Linked DNA regions of Homo sapiens: region 2 is linked to region 1. The links are contacts of gene promoters, found by promoter capture Hi-C in blood cells and fetal thymus (Javierre and others, 2016). All regions are on one chromosome and are shown on one strand. The core of a region is centred on a gene start or on the middle of the fragment in contact, and the rest is flanking DNA. Distances in the headings are between cores, read along the strand shown.

Region 1 (2,902 bases), core at 202-2,701:
AGGCAACATTGTTTGCTTCAGATCTACTTGTTACAAATTGTGGGTTTGAAAACATGCAACCTTATCTCATGATGCACCATAACTAGTATTTAGTTATACTAATAACTCCAAATTATGTAAACAATAGATACCCCGAAATCATATTTGGGTTTGTTTCAGAGATATTTTTGGTTCTTATATTTGGACTTAGGTACTCTTGATCTAAAAATTCACTCAACCTCCAATAAAATAATGAAGGCACAGATAAAAAATCTGATAGAGCTGAATATCGAAATTCCTTGCTTTTAACAGGCGATACAGCGCATTCTTACTCTCTTTTCTCCTAGATCAGCAGGTGTCCCCGCCGCTCCAGTAGACTGAGAAAAAGGAAAAGGAGGGGGCGACAAGAAAGGAAAGGAAATTGTCTAGGTGTCCTGGTGGTGGAGGTGGGGGGTATTTTAATTTCATAATTAAAAGCTCTCTTCTTCGGCTTTCAAGTTTTTACTCCTATTTGTAATGATTTGATTGAGGACTGTGCAGCAGAGTTTGGGTATGTACATCTCTAACATAAACGGAAAGGAACAAGGAAGGGACGGATAGGAGACAGCAAAGGGTTGCGGGGAGAGAGCAAAACGTAGGCGCGTGGGGACGGGAAGGGAGAGGCGGATTTGGCAGTCAAAGAGGGACGAGAGGAACAGGAATGGAAAGTGTGGACTGGCCGTCCAATCCTATGGGGGAAGGGGAAAGGGGGGGCCCACCACGTCGCACTCCTCCCCACCTCCAGGCTTTTCCTGTGTAGGCTGAAGCCATCCAGGCGTGTACAAAAGAGTCGGTTGCTGAGCCAGGAAGGCTGTCTCCCCGGGCTGCGCAAGCTCCGGGCCGCCTCTCCTGGGCTCAGGAGGGCGGGCAAGGATAAGAAGGCAGAAGCCCCAAGGCGGACAGCTTTGTGGGCGCCTGGAAGAAGGCGAAAGGCCACCAGCCCAGACCCCGAGGGCGCTTGCCCGCGGGACTCGGCGCCGCAGGCCAGGGCCGTCCGTGAAGGGTAGTCTGTGCCTACGTCCTGCCCTACTGGTACCACTCGGACACTCTATCCCCGTCCGACCCTTTGCAGGGCTCGACTTGTCTCCCCGACTGCCCGTCCTTAGTCCAGGTTCTCCTGCGCGGCCCGGGTGCGGGGTCTCCTCGTCATCTCGGGCGACACTCTGCAAACAATATGGCGGTCGGGCGTCGACCGTGGCGCCTTCTCTCCGGGCCCTCGGGGTTGACGAGGGGGACTACCGCCGGCGCTCCCGACCCGCGACGCGCGAGCCCCGGGCGGGCGGGGGAGGCGAGAGCAAGAAACCTGTGGGACCTGTGGGGAGCCGCGTCCGCGGGGCTGGCGCGCGCGGGGGCGGCCTCGGGCTCGCGCGCAAAGGCGCGGGCGCGGGCGGGGGCGGAGTGGCGGCGGCAGCGGCGGCTAGAAGCGGCAGCCCAGAGCCCTCTCGCGGCCGCGGCGGCAGCAGCAGCGCCAGCCCCAGCAACACTGAGGCCGCCGCCGCCGCCTGGCGCTCCCGCCGCCCGGCCCGACATGAGTGAGGCGGTTCGGGTACCCTCGCCCGCCACTCCGCTGGTGGTGGCGGCGCCCGCGCCTGAGGAGAGGAAAGGGAAGGAGTCAGAGCGCGAGAAGCTGCCGCCCATCGTATCGGCGGGCGCCGGCGCGACCGCGGTAGGTGGTGGGCCGGGGCCGTCTGGCGCCCCGGACGGCGGGAGTTGGGAGGGACGGCGGCCGGGCGAGGGCCGTCAGGAGGCCTGCGTTTACCCTGGGCACGCCCTGGCACTCCAGGGAGACGCACTCAGGCCGCCCTTCCTTGGGCAGAAATAAAAGAGTTGTGCCTCGTGGACAGCCCCGAACACTTCGCGAGGTACACCTACCACCCTCGGGAAATGTTGGGGGTGGTCGGTTCCGCTGGATGTTTGGGTTATTTTCTGGGGCTTGGGCCCCCACTTTCTCTAAGAGAATGACCTGCATCTTGAGTCGGCATGATCTGTTGGATGAGCATAGGTGTCAGCAGGCGGGAGTGGGTTTTCCACGGAGGTGCCTGCCTGCCTGCCTGCCTTGGAGGCGCGCAGATTTTTGTCCTTTTCTTCGCTTTTCTTTCCCTTCCCCCTTCAGATTAAACAGGCTCTGCGGCGAGTTTCCACTTAATTGTGACCTTTCCGTTGCTGTCAGTGTAGTGGGAGGTAGATGCATCAGTGATGGTTTTATTTTTCATATGGTACAGACATGTGACTCAGGTGGGGGGAGGCTTTTTGAACCTTTTATTTAAACCCAAGTTATCTAAGCTTGACAGGGATGATTTCCCAGCTGTATCTTCGTAAGGGTTATTTGGAGAGCGCTGTCAGGCTTCAAACTACATATTGCCAGATGATGTCATGGGACAGCCCCCTCCCCCTCTTTCCCTATTTTTACTGGTGGTTGTGACTGGTTAATTTGAAGCACAATTTAAAAAAAAACCTCGGATTTTGCAATTTTTTATTTTGACATAATATTTAAGTACTTTTTGAAAGTTTGCTTTGATATATTTAAAGATCATGACTTGTCATGCAGCTGTGTGTGACAAAATAGTAAAAGTTTAGTGAACATTATACATTTTCTTTATTCCTACTTGCGGTTCATTTCTTAAAACCTCCCTCTTAAATGACTAAGAACTTACTAAAATAGCTCACTCTTCGTTAAGTACTGTATTGGTGTTAGGAATAATTTTCGGATTCGGTAGGTTTTTCAAAAATGTCTGAGGGCCCTGATAACTGGAAATTGTTAAAACAAGCTCTTTAAATCAATGCAGCAAATTGCGAACAGTAATGATACACGTTTAAAAGCGTAGCTACAATTGATTGGTAGATTGGAGCTGGGGTTAGGGATTACCCTAGAAAATGCTTTGAA
Region 2 (2,902 bases), core at 236-2,735, 510 kb before region 1:
ATTTCTGTTTTCCTTTTGATAGTTCATGGAGTAGTAGCCCCTCTCTCACGCCATTGGGACTTTGTTCTTCTTAGCCTCTTCATAATTCCTGTTTATGTAAAGTCAGCTTCCCCACAGCCAAGTTAAACTCTCTTAATCAAGTAGAGCCACGGATTTATTTTCTTCTCCTTGTGGGTGGTGCCATTTGAGTGTTGATCTGTCTTTCATAAAGCTGTACCTTGACATGTAAGGGGTCAGTAGTAGGGAGTGAGGAGGGATGTGAAGAGAGAATCAGTGAAAATGAAGTAGGCCAGTGCATGCTTATCTCTGACAGTTCTCTTTATTTCCTGTGAAGGCGATTGACCGAGGCCTGGCTTTTGAACTTGTCTATAGCCCTGCTATCAAAGACTCCACAATGAGAAGGTATACAATTTCCAGTGCCCTCAATTTGATGCAAATCTGCAAAGGAAAGGTATGGTTCTATAATTTTAGGATGTTTTTCGCATCTGGCAGTTTATTATTAGTAGTACACTGGAATTGTCAAACTGACTCCTTTTCCTTAAAGCAGAATGTTCTCATAGCATAGGAACAAATTCTGCCATTTCAGTGAGCTCTGCAAATTTTAAGGGAAAGAAAAATACCAAGGGAAGAATAATGTAAGGGAGAAAAAGATGTGTTGGAAGCCATATCTTTTGATAAAAATTTGCAATTTACATACTGTGAAAGAAAAGTCTAGAATAACAATGGTCCTCACTGAGTTGAATTAAGATATGTGACCTTTTCATCTTGTTTTTTAAACTTAATTCACCTTTACTAAGATCTGTTAGGAAAACATATTTTGTTTTTTATTACAGATTGCCTTTAGTTTGACATGAAGTCTTTTCATTTTTTTCACCTTAATTATTTACCTTATCTTTAAAAGAAGTTGGTATTTGAGCCTTAAATGTTAAAATATGATTACTGGCTATTTATATTATGAAACTCCTTTTTTTACATTTATCTAAGATTAATATTAGTCACTTTCTATTTTGTAGAATGTAATTATATCTAGTGCTGCAGAAAGGGTAAGTCTAGCATGAAGTACTTTGTTTTCATCTTTCAGGTTATAAAACTTTTCAGTTTCTAGGGGATAAATTAAAATAGTAAATGAATATTTGTTGCATTTTTTTCTATTTTAACTGCATTTGCTCATTGTAATTGCTAAATAGTAAAATTTATCCCCACTTTCTTTAGGCTTCAACTTTTGTTTATATAATCAGTTTTTCTTTTATACTGTTACAAAATGCCTTTCAAGCTTCTCTTATATTTTCAAAAGCTATGAAACCCATCAAAATTATAAGGACTTAAATTTATGTAATTTTTTTATTTTTGGATACTTAAATTTTCTATTAATTTGCTATAAGTCATTGAAATGTTATAAATAATTTTCTCATATCTACTCTTTGTTCATTTTATTTCAGCCTTTAGAAATAAGAGGGCCATATGACGTGGCAAATCTGTATCCTTTTCTGAGTAAAAAGTTGTTGACATTGTCTTTCAGGAAATTTTGAATTTGAAGTCGTATTATAGTTGAACATGTATTTTTCTCAACCTTTTACTGTAAGTTTACCAATTAATAACTTCAAAAATAAATTATATAACATTATAGAGAGCTTTATGCTTCTGTTTTTTAATTAATCATGAGATAGAAAAGAGGGAATGAGGGACTTCATATGATAAAAGCTTAGAGTTAAATGAGTCTTTTCTCAGATGCATGTTCCAGTTGGACTAAGAACTGCTGTTGAATTAATTAGCCTCTCAAGATGACCAGGTTAGCTGGCACTTTCTGTTATGTTTGTGTTAGTCTCGTGTCCTTGGGTGACTCTGGGTTGAAATCTTTAATGCTCCCCCAAGAGGCTTGCTGTTTGGGCTCTCTGAAAGTGACGCCAAGGCTGCGGTGTCCACCAACTGCCGAGCAGCGCTTCTCCATGGAGGTAAGCAAGTTCTTCCAGTACAAACTGAATGGTCATGTTAAAAGCAAGTCATTTTTACAGCCATACCTATTTTTATTGCCCTACCCTACAGAGTTCCTTTGGGATCATCTTTTCTCAACCTGTTCTAAACACAGTCATCAGTGTTTTCTCACCCTCACTTCAGGCTTTACTTTCTAAAGTTTGTAGAATGAATATAGTTTTCATTACAGAAATAAGTATTGAATAGTTCTTCCAGCTATACATGTGTGCTCCTGCCGACATTTTGATAGGCTTCTAATCTCCCTTCCTTCTTCTCCCTCACCAGAAGGCCATGCTTTCCCTGTTGAAAATCTCTGTTTTAGAGAACGGATATGTTAAAAATATGTGTTAAACTATTTATTAGGAAAACAAAACCAGCAAATACATTTTTAAAAATCCAACTAACAAAACATAGACTGTAACTTTTACATTTATTATAACTCAGAATGTTTCTTTTCTCATGTTTGCTTACATGGTCAAGTTGTGTCCAGACTGTACCTTTTTTATTTTTTTTTCTTTTTCTAAATAGAGACAGAGTCTCACTATGTTGCCCAGGCTGGTCTTGAACTCCTGGGCTCAAGCAATCCTCCTACCTCAGCCTCCCAAAGTGCTAGGATTACAGACATGAGCCACCATGCCCGGCCAGACTGTACATTTTTTACTCACATTTTGTATATGTACCTTTTCACTGACTGAGTTTCCTGCTCATCAGATGTTAAAAATTGAAAGTATGCTGAAACTTTGGAAAATGAAAGTGAAATTTTATTAAAACAATTTAAGCTTTTGATCACTGTTTTGTCTTCGTTATCTTTATAATTCTTAGGACTAGTTGTAGTGGTTAAGAAGCAATTTCATTGATATCACCCAAGTGAATTTTAAACTTCAAAGTAGATTGCTACATATAGACTGAGTTATTTGTCATATGAATAGCT

The links. The method cuts DNA at HindIII sites, captures the fragments that hold promoters and counts their contacts. A CHiCAGO score of 5 or more calls a contact.
Region 2: a contact is called between a fragment that was not itself captured here and the fragment with the promoter of HECTD2 in region 1, in 1 of 17 cell types (erythroblasts). The highest score is 5.1, in erythroblasts.

The regions. Positions count from the first base shown.
Region 1 is chr10:91,408,893-91,411,794 of GRCh38, forward strand. HECTD2 (HECT domain E3 ubiquitin protein ligase 2) reads left to right here and starts at 1,452. Exons shown (of 21, transcript NM_182765.6): 1 at 1,452-1,684. The coding sequence starts at 1,547. All of the region lies in intron 3 of HECTD2-AS1 (HECTD2 antisense RNA 1), which reads right to left. RefSeq lists an enhancer at 859-1,068 and a silencer at 1,219-1,808. The HindIII fragment of the contact is 4,522 bases long and covers 1-2,299 here.
Region 2 is chr10:90,894,441-90,897,342 of GRCh38, forward strand. It overlaps RPP30 (ribonuclease P/MRP subunit p30), which reads left to right. Exons shown (of 11, transcript NM_006413.5): 7 at 335-451; 8 at 1,014-1,043; 9 at 1,440-1,477; 10 at 1,873-1,952. Among named protein-coding and RNA genes, the nearest start is that of RPP30, 24 kb to the left of the region's middle. The HindIII fragment of the contact is 428 bases long and covers 1,272-1,699 here.